2 separate regions of the Homo sapiens genome follow, and region 1 is linked to region 2. The links are contacts of gene promoters, found by promoter capture Hi-C in human tissues and cell types (Jung and others, 2019). All regions are on one chromosome and are shown on one strand. The core of a region is centred on a gene start or on the middle of the fragment in contact, and the rest is flanking DNA. Distances in the headings are between cores, read along the strand shown. Region 1 overlaps GOLPH3L (golgi phosphoprotein 3 like). Region 2 holds the start of BNIPL (BCL2 interacting protein like).

What was found. Contacts are between HindIII fragments. The study calls those that stand out against the background at their distance.
Region 1: a contact is called between a fragment that was not itself captured here and the fragment with the promoter of BNIPL in region 2, in 3 of the 25 tissues and cell types used here (IMR-90 fibroblasts, lymphoblastoid cells and mesenchymal stem cells).

Annotation. Positions count from the first base shown.
Region 1 is chr1:150,686,007-150,692,896 of GRCh38, forward strand. All of the region lies in intron 2 of GOLPH3L (golgi phosphoprotein 3 like), which reads right to left. Among named protein-coding and RNA genes, the nearest start is that of GOLPH3L, 7.7 kb to the right of the region's middle. The HindIII fragment of the contact is 5,683 bases long and covers 1-4,092 here.
Region 2 is chr1:151,034,201-151,041,208 of GRCh38, forward strand. BNIPL (BCL2 interacting protein like) reads left to right here and starts at 2,386. Exons shown (of 10, transcript NM_138278.4): 1 at 2,386-2,566; 2 at 3,367-3,462; 3 at 4,304-4,368; 4 at 4,596-4,826. The coding sequence starts at 2,526. PRUNE1 (prune exopolyphosphatase 1) reads left to right here. Exons shown (of 8, transcript NM_021222.3): 8 at 1-1,513. The coding sequence ends at 34. The HindIII fragment of the contact is 8,096 bases long and covers 1-3,261 here.

The DNA of each region.
Region 1 (6,890 bases), core at 1-2,500, 350 kb before region 2:
TGAGATTACAGGTGCGTGCCACCACACCCGGCTAATTTTTGTATTTTTAGTAAAGATGGGGTTTTACCATATTGGCCAGGCTGGTCTTGAATTCCTAACCTCATGATCTGCCTGCCTTGGCCTCCCAAAGTGCTAGGATTACAGGCGTGAGCTACCGCACCCAGCCAGCATGTCCTTTTTAAACTGCAAAGTCAGATATTTGTTTTTGTTTTGTTTTTCCTGTTTTGAGACAGAGTCGTGCTCTGTGGCCCAGGCTGGAGCACAGTGGTGTGATCATAGCTCAATGCAGCTTCGAACTCCTGGGCTCAAGTGATCCTCTCACCTCAACCTCCTGAGTAGCTGGGACTATAGGTTCACGCAGGGCTGTTTTCATTTTTTTGTAGAGATTGGGTCTCATTTTGTTGCCCTGGCTTGTCTTGAACTCCTGGCCTGAAGTAATCCTCCCATTTTGGCCTCCCAAACTGCTGGGAATACAGGCAGTGAAACACCACGCCCAGTTGCAGAGTCAGTTTGAATGTAAATTCCACAATTTATTGCCCAAATGATCATTTAACTTTGACTCCTATAAAGAGAATGATACCTGCCTTGCAGGATTAAACAATAGAAACTGCAAAATGTTTTGAAAATAAATTATACAAACAAAATATGGAGGCAAAAGTGATGAAATGGCTGACAGCAAGTTTATAGGCACAGTGGTTACAGCCAAAATCCCAAATTCAAGTGGGCAGCTTTGTCTCAATATCAATACTAGATATTTTATATTTTGGGAGAGTACTGTGTGCATTTGGGGATTGGAAGAATTAGGGAGAAGATCTTAATGAAATAGCTTAAGCTATATTTTCCTACTATTAAAACAGGTCTTTGGTCTTCCAGTTTATTTCCTTTTATACCAATAGTAAATAGTTATTTGGGGTTAATATGCCTGGATATAATAAAAAACAAAAGTTAATTTTTTTAACAGCTTATGTTTAAAGAAAAAAACCTGACAAACAAGCCCTTCTGATACAGTTGCCCTATTCACAATCGCAGTAGCTACTGGGAGACTTATTGTTCATTTTGCGCGATTAGGAAACTAAAAGGAAAGACCAGGTAGTAACTTAAATTAGACTTTTAATTTTTTTTTTTAAGACAAGGTCTTGTTCTTTGCTCGGCCTGCTATTAATATTTTAATTATAATAAAATGCTTTAGGATTGAGTCACTTTTTAAGGCGGCCAATTTTCTTCATTCATAGCCAATAATCAACAAGTTGGACACTGACTGACTGTGACTGATTTTAAAAACCTTTTTGGGCTGGGCGTGGTGGCTCACATCTGTAATCCCAGCACTTTGGGAGGTCGAGGCAGGCGGATCACCTGAGGTCAGGAGTTCGACACCAGCCTGGCTAACGTGGTAAAACCCCGTTTCTACTAAAAATACAAAAAATTAGCCGGGCGTGGTGGTGCATGCCTGTAATCCCAGCTACTTGGGAGGCTGACACAGGAGAATTGAACGCGGGAGGCAGAGGTTGCGGTGAGCCAAGATCGTGCCACTACACTCTAGCTTAGGTAACAAGAGCGAAACTCTGTCTCAAAAAAAAAACAAAAAAAAACTTTTTGATTAGTGAATTTTTTTTACCAGCTTTAAAGAAGCTTTTACTTCTAATCTCCTATTGCTAATAAAGATGAACTATACTTGATGGAGGATCATCAGCAGCTTGAAAAAGCGTAGCATTAACATACTTTATAATTAAAAATACATATGAATTTCATACGTATAATTCCCATACGTATAGTGGATAACAGTAGATTGTTTGAAAAAAGATAACTGACAAGTACCAGGAGAATTTTAGCAGCACTGTTCATAATGAACTCTTGAATGTGCATTAACCCATAGAATGAATAGTGGTATATTCATGTAATGAAATATTAATCAGGATGAACTGGATTAAACTATATGCAACAACATGGACAAATCTCACAAACATTATATTGATCAAAAGAATACATTAAAATATTAACCCAATAAAATAGAGTTTAAAAACAGGCAAAACTAAAATATATTGTTTAGGGATATACATACATGTCAAAACTACAGGGAAGTGGGCAGCATGTGATTAGGGGCAGGCATAAGAGAAGCCTTCCAGGATGCTGATATTGTTCTATTGGTGATTACATGACTGTTGGCTTTCAAACTACTTGTTAAACTGTATATATGTGCTTTATACAATTTTCTGGATACACTGTATTTCACAATTTTAGAAAACTTAAACAATAAAGCATGTAACTGGATGTTCAGCTCTCATACTTCAGTTTTAAAACACTGGAGTTCATTAAAAGGAGATGGGATGCTTTCAGACATCTGTGGTTATTCCAGTTGCACATCACTGAAATTATTAGGAACATCCAGTTGATGTTCTTTTTTCCTAGAACCTGTCTCTTTACAGACTAACTCACTCTTATTCCAGTTAAGAGTTATTACCTCCTGGCGGGGCGCAGTGGCTCACACCTGTAATCCCAGCACTTTGGGAGGCCAAGGCAGTTGGATCACCTGAGGTCAGGAATTCAAGACCAGCCTGGCCAACATGGTGAAACCCCGTCTCTACAAAAATACAAAAATTAGCCGGGGATGGTGGCAGGTGCATGTAATACCAGCTACTTGGGAGGCTGAGGAAGCAGAATCGCTTGAATCCGGGAGGTGGAGGTTGCAGTGAGCCAAGATCACGCCACTGCTTTGCAGCCTGGGTGACAGAATGAGATTCTATCTCAAACAAACAAACAACAAAAAAAAGAGTTATCACCTCCTGTAAGTCTTTCCCAACATCTCTTCTTCCCTCTCCTACTGCTCCTTCCCACCACCCATCTGATTTACGTGCTTTTCCTCTGTGTTTCCTTCCTACTCAGAACACACTTATACACATATCACATTGTTCTGAAATGGTCTGCTGACTTTCTGGCTTCTACTCCCAGCATCTCCAACCATCCCTATGCCACTAAACCATAAATTGACCTCAAAAGCAGGGACAATTGTTTTTGTTCTCTCTTTCTATGACATATGAGTCATTCAATAAAATTTTTGGTGATTAAACAAATAAGTGAAAATGTATTGCCATATTTCCAATGGATAATACTTCTTGCCAATTTTTACCACAGTGACATGAGAAATATGATGAAAAGCTTTTCTTTCACAGTAAGTAGTAAGTATTCAATAAATGGCATTACTAGGAGAAAGCTTTCCAAGAAAGAGAGGATGGTTGAAAAACATTATCCACAAATTAAATAGATGAGAAATGAAAAGACCACTAGGAGTCAAAAGCAGTAATTGGCTTACTCCCCTTACAGGTAACTTAAGAAACGATTCTAATAAATGAAAAGTTTTATACATTAGCAAGTCAATTAAAACACTGTTCATGAGTTAATAATCTATATCAAAACTCTTACCAAAGGCAATAATAACAAATAAGCAGATTCCTGATTTCAACAGGAGATAAACCTATTTTATTTTGGTCAGGCTTGTGCTCAATGTTTACTTTCTCAGTTGAGGTCAGTGTTATTGAACTGAGATAGTATCTAATTTTAACTGTGCTTGAAAGGTTATACTCTTCAAATTATATTTAAATTTCTTGATTGTTTTCATAAGACAATGATACTTAATATTTAATTTAATTAGTTTATATTTTTTGAGGCAGTCTTACTCTGTCACCCAGGCTAGAGTGCAGTAGTGTGACCTTGGCTCATTGCAGCCTCTGCCTCTTGGGTTCAAGAGATTCTCCCATCAGCATAGCTAGGATTACAGGTGCATGCCACCACACCCAGCTAATTTTTTTTTTCCTTTAGTAGAGATGGGGTTTCACCATGTTGGCCAGGCTGGTCTCGAACTCCTGGCCTCAAGTGATTTGCCCGCCTCAAACCTCCCAAAGTGCTGGGATTATAGATGTGAGCCACTGCGTCTGGCCAGATGCTTAATATTTTAAAACCAGTCTGTGGTAGTTACCCCTCAGAAGAATTTTTTTTTTTCTTTTAAGACAGGGTCTCACTCTGTCACCCAGGTTGGAGTACAGTGGCACAAACACAGCTCACTCCAGCCTTGAACTCCTGGGCTCAAGCAATCCTCTCGCCTCAATCTCCCAAGTAGCTGAAACTGCAGGTATGTGACACCATGCCAGGCTAATTTTTATATTTTTTGTAGAGATGAGGTCTCACTATGTTGCCCAGGTTGGTCTAGAATTCCTGGCCTCAGGCAATCCTTCTGTCTCCCAAAGTGCTGGGATTACAGACAGGAGCCACCGTGCCTGCTTGAAAGACACATAGTTTCTAAAAAAATGATAATACTGGGTTCTAAACAGAGGATCTTAGGGAACTCTCCAGTAAAAGTTTGGGAGTTTGGGACACAAAATTTAACATTTAGGATTTTTTCCTTTTTTGACTTGTCACAAATCCCAAACCATGTAAAAACAAGCAATTATATACACATTAAAACATACTCACAAAGAACATAAAAATGTTATTAAGCCCTTAATTTGGACACAAAAATGAAATGGGCTTTGCTGTTTTCATTAGGCTGATTCTCTTTTCCCTAAAGGAAAGAGTCTAAAAGTCTCTGCCTGGTAACAAAATCTATAATCTGGTCCAAATCGAATTTACTGATTTTGAATCCCATTGTTCTCCACCTACTTCAGTCATACTGGCCTACTCACAGTTATCTCCCAAACTCATCAAGCTCATGATACCTTTGCTCACTCAGGTTCCCTCATCCAGAACGTGTTTCCTTTTCTCCATTCATGTTAATCCTCCCATTTTTAAAGGCATGGCTTGTTTTACTGCCTTTTTCTATTCTTCCCCGGATTACTCTATCTCATGATGGTTTCTCCTCTCTCTAACTCCCTTGGCTCATTCTAACATGCAAAAACTTGCTTTTTATTGTTGTTTACTTTAAAAAAAATATTTTGCATTGTGAAATATAATGTACACACAGAAGAATAAACAAAACAAAGTAAAAAGCTTAATTATTCCAAAGTGAAGATCTATGGCCCAGGTGCAGTGGCTCACGCTTGTAATCCCAGCACTTTGGGAGGCCAAGGCAGGTGGATCACTTGAGATCAGGAGTTCAAGACTAGCCTGGCTAACATGCTGAAAACCCTTCCCTACTAAGAATACAAAAATTAGCCAGGAGGGACAGAGCAAGACTCCGTATCAAAAATAAATAAATAAATAAAAAAGGCCGGGAGCAGTAGTTTACGCCTGTAATCCCAGCACTTTGGGAGGCCACACCTATAATCCCAGCACTTTGGGAGGCCAAGTTGGGTGGGTCGCCTGAGAGGTCAGGAGTTCAAGACCAGCCTGACCAATATGGTGAAACCCCATCTCTACTAAAAATACAAAAATTAGCCAGGCATGGTGGCGGGTGCCTGTAATCCCAGCTACTCAGGAGATTGAGACAGGAGAATTGCTTGAACTCGGGAGGCGCAGGTTGCAGTGAGCCAAGATGGTGCCACTATACTCCAACCTGGGTGACAGAGCAAGACTCTGTCTTAAAAACAAAAACAAAAACAAAAACAAAACTATGAAACTTCCTCTAGGTCCAGAAACAGAAAATTGTTACTATCTAGAAATCCTCTCCATTTTCCTTCCTAATTACTAACACCCTTTTCCTTCCCCTATCCCTTACAAAAAGATAATCACTATTCTAAAAACTATAGTAATTCCTGGCTTGATTTTGTTTATAATTGTACCACCTAAATATGCAACCTCAAATACAATAGTTTTTTGAGTTTCATATAAATGGAATCATACAGTATGTATATTTTTGTGTTTGGCTTTTTTTATTGAACATAATGTGAGAAATATACATGTTGTATAACAATGTTCATTTTCATTCTGTATAGAAAACATATTTATACTCATTTAAACAAATGGATGACTCTTTTTTTTTTTTGATGATTCATTTTTATCCATTCTGCTGTTGATGGACCTTCGGGTTACTTAACTTTTAAAAAGTATGTATCTTTTTGTCTCTCCAGCTAGAATGCAAGTTTCTTGAAGGCAGGGACCATATACTATACTATTTTATATTTACCTTAGTATTAATATTTAGCATAATCCTAAGCACATAATGGGTGTCCTCAATCACATTAAATATTGATTAAATGAATCTATTGATAGTTTGAGAGATAAGAAAAAAATAAGTACAGTTGGGAATCAATTTAATATTTTTAGAGATAGTTATGTAACTGGCCTTTTGTAACTACTACTATTTAAATAAATCACAAAGTTTGACCTCTTCTATTCATTTACACCTAAGGATTTATTGTCTTTTATTCTTCCTGAGCCAAATGAAAGCTAAATATTTGTTAACTATCCTCAAAAATAAAATTAGAGCAATTCAAAAGGTGGTTAATTGTTATGTGCTATTATTTATTATTTTTTGAGGCCTTGCTCTGTTGTTCAGGCTGGAGTGCAGTGACACAATCCTGGTTCACTGAAGCCTCGACCTCCGAGGCTTAAGCCATCCTCTTGACTCAGCCTCCTGAGTAGCTAGGACTACAGGCATGTGCCACCATGTCCAGCTAATTTTTTTGTTTTAAATTTTTTGTAGAGATGGTGTCTCACCATGTTGCCCAGGCTGGTCTTGAACTCCTGGGCCCAAGCAATCCTCTTACCTTGGCCTCCCAAGTGTTAGGATTACAGGAATTAGCCATTGCATCCAGCCATCTGCTTATTTTGTACAGTATCTCACCAATATGTTAAGTACTCACCATGGCCATAGCTCTTAATGAGCTGCTTTATTTTTTATTCTATTTCCTAAAATTTATATTAACCATTATAAACACATGAAGACAAGCCCAAAAGCAAAAATTCCAGTGCATAAGGTCAGCAGGAAATTAATCATTCCTATTCAAAGCTAAAACAAACCA
Region 2 (7,008 bases), core at 1,136-3,635:
ACAGTCTACCACAGCCTCCCTGTCCAAGAAGTGACTGTTGAGAGGCGAGGAGGTAGTGGGTGAGGCTACCTGACTCACTTCAAATGCATGTTTTGAGATGTTTGGAGATTCAGCAATTCTGTCTTCATTGCTCCAGGATCTGGTATACTGTTCTCATAAAACTGAGAGGAGAAAAAAAGTGAAAGAAAGCAGCTGCTTTAAGAATGGTTTTCCACCTTTTCCCCCTAATCTCTACCAATCAGACACATTTTATTATTTAAATCTGCACCTCTCTCTATTTTATTTGCCAGGGGCACGATGTGACATATCTGCAGTCCCAGCACAGTGGGACAAAAAGAATTTAGACCCCAAAAGTGTCCTCGGCATGGATCTTGAACAGAACCAGTATCTGTCATGGAACTGAACATTCATCGATGGTCTCCATGTATTCATTTATTCACTTGTTCATTCAAGTATTTATTGAATACCTGCCTCAAGCTAGAGAGAAAAGAGAGTGCGCTTTGGAAATTTATTCCAGTTTTCAGCCTACAGCAGATTATCAGCTCGGTGACTTTTCTTTCTGCCACCATTTAGGTGATGGTGTTTGATTCAGAGATGGCTGAATTTCTATTCTTAGCTTATTGTGACTGTTTCAGATCTAGTTTGGGAACAGATTAGAGGCCATTGTCTTCTGTCCTGATCAGGTGGCCTGGCTGTTTCTTTGGATCCCTCTGTCCCAGAGCCACCCAGAACCCTGACTCTTGAGAATCAAGAAAACACCCAGAAAGGCCTTAATGACCTCATAGGCACTCTTCCAAAAAGACAACAGAACTGGAATGAGAGGCCTGGGTCTGTCTCCTGCCTTAGCAGGCCTATCAATTTCTTGTCAATCTCTTTTTTTCCTTGCTCACATTAAAAGGAAGCATGGAGTTCTAATGCTCCCATAAACTATGTATTTTGGCAAGACACTTCACTACTCCAGGTCTCACTTTCCCCATCTGTAAAACAGGGTTTGGACTAGGTGTTCCCTGGTATTCTGTGATCTGCCTCTTGCTGCCATTCTTTCTCTCCTCTGCTTCTCTGTATTTTTCTTCTGTTATCCCTGGGGGTGCTCAGGTTCACTTGATTGTCTGTATTTCTGTGTGGTTGTAGCAAGGACTCAGCCTCATGTAGCACGAATAGGGGTGTGGTTCATGGCGTGTTGACCCAGCAGAGCACTCCCTCCCACTAACTTGTTCTGCATGTGTAGAGTCTCCCCATTTTTTTTAACGCAACCCTTTCCCCTTTTTCCTACCCCACAGCTCTGTTCCATGTAAGTTGCCAACAGTTTCACTGAACAGTGGGGTATGTGATGGTTTTGGCATGACATCTTCAGTATGAGGGGGACAGTTTGACTTCACTTTGAGGGTGTGATGTCTGTAGCTATGTGGAAGGTAAAAATAGTGGTGTGATCATGAACCAAAGGAATTTATGTTTTGTAACTTGGGTACTTTATTTTGCATTTTGTTATACTATTAAATAATTTTTTCCTGTTTGGGGGTCTTACTGTCTTTTTTTACAAGTGTATTCAGGCCTTTCTCTGTGATAGTTGTTTCAGTCTCCTCAAAATTGATCCCCCTTCTTCCTACTATACTTAATGTCTTCTTTCTGTTGACTCTTTTTGGGAATAAGGAGCAACAGGCTTCTGTCTCCCCTCATCCTCAGCCTCCCGTTCAACTTGTTTATTCTCCCAGAAACCTCCTTATAACATACTTCCGTTTCCCCAGTTTTCCTTATGCTTGAAAAGTAGATCCAAGATAACAGTCCTAGAAACACACACAATGGTTTCTTTTTCTTTTTTTTTTTTTTTTTGAGATGGAGTTTTGCTCTTTTTGCCCTGGCTGGAGTGCAATGGCACAATCTCAGCCCACTACAACCTCTGCCTCCCAGGTTCAAGCGATTCTCCTGCCTCAGCCTCCCAAGTAGCTGGGATTATAGGCATGTGTCACCACGCCCAGATAATTTTTTTTTTTTTTTTTTTTTTTTTTTTTTTTTGGATTTTTAGTAGAGATGGGGTTTCTCCACATTGGTCAGGCTGGTCTCAAACTCCCGACCTCAGGTGATCCGCCTGCCTTGGCCTCCCAAAGTGTTGGGATTACAGGTGTGAGCCACCACGCCCGGCCAGAAACACAACGGTTTCTACTGGTTTTTTTGCTTATTTGTGTAAAGAGCAACTTTGAGAGGGATATATGGAGTCTGGAAAGGAGAACAAATTGCCTTCCTAGACTCAACCGAGACTGGCCCCCACTAGAAAATGCACTCTCCTCCCCAAAACCCGCCCCCTCACAGGAGGCAGGGTTTTTCTTTTGGGCAAACCTGCTCCTGGGGAGAGGAGTGGCAAAACCTGTTTTGAAGATGAGGTTACCTCCCTTCCACACCTCCCTCCTTGGAGGCAAGAGCTACAACAGCTGAGACAGAAAAGAGGTAAGGAAGTGTTGGGGGCTGGGACAACCAGCTCCCCAACAACTCCTAGGTGTTTAAAGAAGGAGGCAGGAAGACTTGTGAAGATGGGAACTATACAAGAGGCAGGAAAAAAGACAGATGTTGGGTAAGTAAGATCTTGGCTCACTTGATTGGTAACAGTGAATAAACAGTCCGGAGAGACTTCCCCACCACCCAGCTCTTACTGGGTCAAATCTCGGGTTCCTCAAGGAGACAAGACTGTAAGAGAGTTTGCAGAGAAGAGATGAGGGTGGTTTTAGGTAGGAAATGTCAGTATGGTATGGAACTGGGGAACAGGATTCCAGGATAATTCCCTGGTTTAAAAATAAAGGAAGTTTCTGTAATATGTTGTACCTGATAAATCTGCCTGTGTTCTTTTATTTTCTAACCCTCACCCTCCAGAATGGCCATCAGGAAAGCTGAACCAGAACCGAGTTTAGGTCCAGGTTCTCGTTCTGGCAAATCTTTCTCCTTACCTTCTTCCTCCACCCCTCCACTTATGCCATGTTTTCCCTTAGCCACTCCCCAGCTCGGTGGAGGAAAGGCAGGCCTAACTAGGTACCGTCTTCCCGACTTTGCTCAATGATAGCTGGGTGGGTCTAGCTGGGTTCCAGCCACTTGTAATGTGGGACATCTCTCACCCCAACTTTGTAGGTGGAGCAACTGCTACAGAGGTAAATATGATTAACTTTACATTCCATCTTTCGTCTGCTCCCAAACTTAACAGCAGGTAATCTGCTTCTAGCAAGTGGTGAAGGTAAGAGAAGCATCTGTATAGGAGGCAAGAGATCTGAGTCCTTTTGAAGGCCTATCCTCTGCTCTGTATCTCAATTACTGTTCTTCATTTCAATTATTCTTACCTACTATTCAGTTCCCTTGATCTTTTCTTCTTGGGGGCTGTCTTAGGGTCAGGGAGATTGCAGAAGCACCAGAACTAGGAGCAGCCCTGAGACATGGGGAGTTGGAGCTGAAGGAGGAATGGCAGGATGAAGAATTCCCTAGGTGAGGACGTGTGAGGGTGGCTGGGAGAAGGGAGGGGTGGTCACGAATGGACGGAGGGGATGGCGCGGCGGCTCATGGCTGTAATCCCAGCACTTTGGGTGGCCGAGGCGGGTGGATCACCTGAGGTCAGGAGTTTGAGACCAGCCTGACCAACACGGTGAAATCCCGTCTCTACTAAAAATACAAAATTAGCCAGGTGTGGTGGCACATGCCTGTAATCCCAGCTACTCGGGAGGCTGAGGCAGGAGAATCACTTGAACCTGGGAGGCAGAGGTTGTAGTGAGCTGAGATTGTGCCATTACACCCGAGCTTGGGCAACAAGAGTGAAACTCTGTCTCAAAAAAAAAAAAAAAAAAAAAAAAAAAAAGCAAATGGACACAGGGATGGTGAATTAGGACTTGAAGGAAAAAAATGGGAAAAAGAAAACAGAGGCCGGGCGTGGTGGCTGATGCCTGTAATCCCAGCACTTTGGGAGGCCGAGGCAGGTGGATCACTTGAGCTCAGAAGTTCAAGACTACTCTGGGCAACATGGCATAACCCCATCTCTACAAAAATACAAAATTTAGCCAAGTGTGGTGGTGCACACCTGTAGGCCCAGCTACTCGGGAGGCTGAGGTGGGAGGACCGCTTGAACCCTGGAGGTAGAGGCTGCAGTGAGCTGTGATTGTGCCACTGCATTCCAGCCTGGGCAACAGAGTGAGACCCTGTCTCAAAAAAACAATTAAAAAAAAAAGCAGCATAGGTGATAAAATCATGGTGGGGAGAGAGAACCTATATATTGAGTCCTGGCTTGATGCCTTTGGTGTATATGTCTGCCGCCTTTTAATCTCTTCCCCTCTAGATTGCTTCCTGAGGAGGCTGGCACTTCTGAAGATCCTGAAGACCCTAAAGGAGATTCACAGGCAGGTAGGTCAAGTAGAAACCAGGCCTCAAGTTCTTGATTCTAGTCCAGTAAAGGGCTATGCCACCTCTATCCTTTTACAGTTCCATTTCCCCCTTTTCCCAAATCTCCCCTGCGTGAGTCCTTCTTCAGCATTCACCCCATATTATCACTTTCACATACAGGAATTCTAGCCCTCTCGGCTCTCCAACACACACACCCATCTTGGTTCTCTTTTTCCCCCTTTCTCCAGCTGCAGGTACCCCCAGCACTTTAGCCCTGTGTGGCCAGCGCCCCATGCGCAAGCGTCTTTCTGCCCCAGAGTTGCGGCTGAGTCTGACTAAGGGGCCTGGAAATGATGGAGCTTCACCCACCCAGTCTGCACCTTCCTCTCCTGATGGCAGTTCTGACCTGGAGATAGACGAATTGGAGACACCTTCAGACTCGGAGCAGCTGGACAGTGGACATGAATTTGAATGGGAAGGTGGGAAACAAACCAGAGGACTCAGCTGGTAGAAGTAGAGGCTAGAGCTAAAGGATCAGGATGGACTTAATGGGACTGCAGTTAGAACTAATAAGGTGGGACCAAGGGCTACGGCCAGCAAAATTAGTTTCCTCAAATGGAACTTGGGCTTATAGGTCCAATGTGAGAGTAGTCAGTAGAGGGGGAGGGGAGCCCATTGTTTATTAAGGAAAATTTAATTGAATGCCTGTTACATACTATCATGTATAGGACTGGGGTTATAAAGATGAATAAGAGAGGGCCTACAGGGAATTCTCTGCTTAGTAGGAAATAAACATATATAAAAATAATTGCAGTTAAAGGTTATGATCTATATATGTGTAGGGTACAGTGTAGACAGGGAGAAGGAAAAGGTCAGTTCTGCCTGAGAGATGTTAGGAAAGGCTTCATGAAGGAGATGATTCTGAGCTAAGTGTTGAAAACTGAAGCTGACATTTATCAGGTAGTTGGAGAGAGGGCATTCTAAGGAGAAGAAGCAGAAGCAACTCAAGCAATAGCATGGCATGTTGGGGAATTCAAAGTATGAGCATGACTATTTTAATATGAAGGGCCGGGAGGTGAAGAGAGAATGACAAAAGATAGTGCTGCTGGGTTAAGTAGAAAAAGGTCACATCATGGAGGCCCTTGCTGCCATGATAAGGAGTTTAGGTTTTATCTTATAGACAATAGGGAGTCATGATAAGTTTTTTTGTTTTTTGTTTTTGATACAGAGTCTTGCCCTGTTGCCCAGGCTAGAGTAGAGTGGTGTGATATAGGCTTACTGCAACGTCTGCTTCCTGGGTTCAAGTGATTCTTGTTCCTCAGCCTCCTGAGTAGCTGAGATTACAGATGTGTGCTATCACGTGTGGCTAATTTTTATATTTTTAGTAGAGATGGGGTTTCGCCATGTTGGCCAGGCTGATCTTGAGCTCCTGGCCTCAAGTGATCCACCTGCCTTGGCCTCCCAGTGTGCTGGGATTACAGGTGTGAGCCACCATGCCTGGCCCAGTAAGGTTTTAATCAAAGGAGTAACATGATCAAATTTAATGACTCTGAAAAGATTGGAAACAACCTAAAGATCCAGCAGTAAGGTATTACGTTTGTTATGGTGCATCCATCCAGTGGAATACTAAATACTAGGCAACATTTTGTTTTTGAGACAGTCTTGCTCTGTTGCCCAGTCTGGAGTGCAATGGCACAATCTTGCTCACTGCAGCCTCAACCTCCTAGGCTCAAGCAATCCTCCTGCCTCAGCCTCCCAAGTATCTGGGACTATAGGCCCACGCCACCAAACCTGGCTAATTTTTATATATTTTTGTAGAGACAGGGTCTTGCTATGTTGCCCAGGCTGGTCTTGAACTCCTGGCCTCAAGCAATCCTCCTGCCTCAGTCTCCCAAAGTGTTGGGATTACAGGCATGAGCCACTGTACTCGGCTATGCAACTATTTTTTAAAATGAAGCAGTTCTTAGGCTGGGAGCGGTGGCTCACGCCTGTAATCCCAGCACTTTGGGAGGCTGAGGCAGGTGGATCACCTGAGGTCAGGAGTTCAAGACCAGCCTGAGCAACATGGAGAAAGCCCATCTCTACTAAAAATACAAAATTAGCTGGGTATGGTGGCACACACCTGTAATCCCAGCTACTTGGGAGGCTGAGGCAGGAGAATCGCTTGAACCGGTGAGGTGGAGGTTGCGGTGAGCCGAGATTGCGTCACTGCACTCCAGCCTGGGCGACAAGAGCAAAACTCCATCTCAAAAAAAAAAAAAAAAAAGAAGAAGCAGCTCTTTCTATTGCTATGGAAAGATCATGCAGAATGGTGGGTATAATATATTATCATTTGAATAAAAAGCTAAAGAGGCTGGGTGCAGTGGCTCATTCCTGTAATCCCAACACTTTGGGAGGCTGAGGAGGGCAGATCATCTGAGCCCAGGAGTTGGGACCAGCCTGGGCAACAAAGTGAAACCCTATTTCTACAAAAAAAATTTTTTTTAAATTGGCTGGGCTTTGTGGCACAGACCTGTAGTCCCAGCTACTTGGGAGGCTGAGGTGGGAGGATCACCTGAGCCTGGGAAGTAGAGGTTGTAGTGAGCCAAGATCATGCCACTCCACTCCAGCCTGGAAGACAGAGTGAGACCCTGTCTCAAAAAAAAAGGTAGAGAAGAAAGG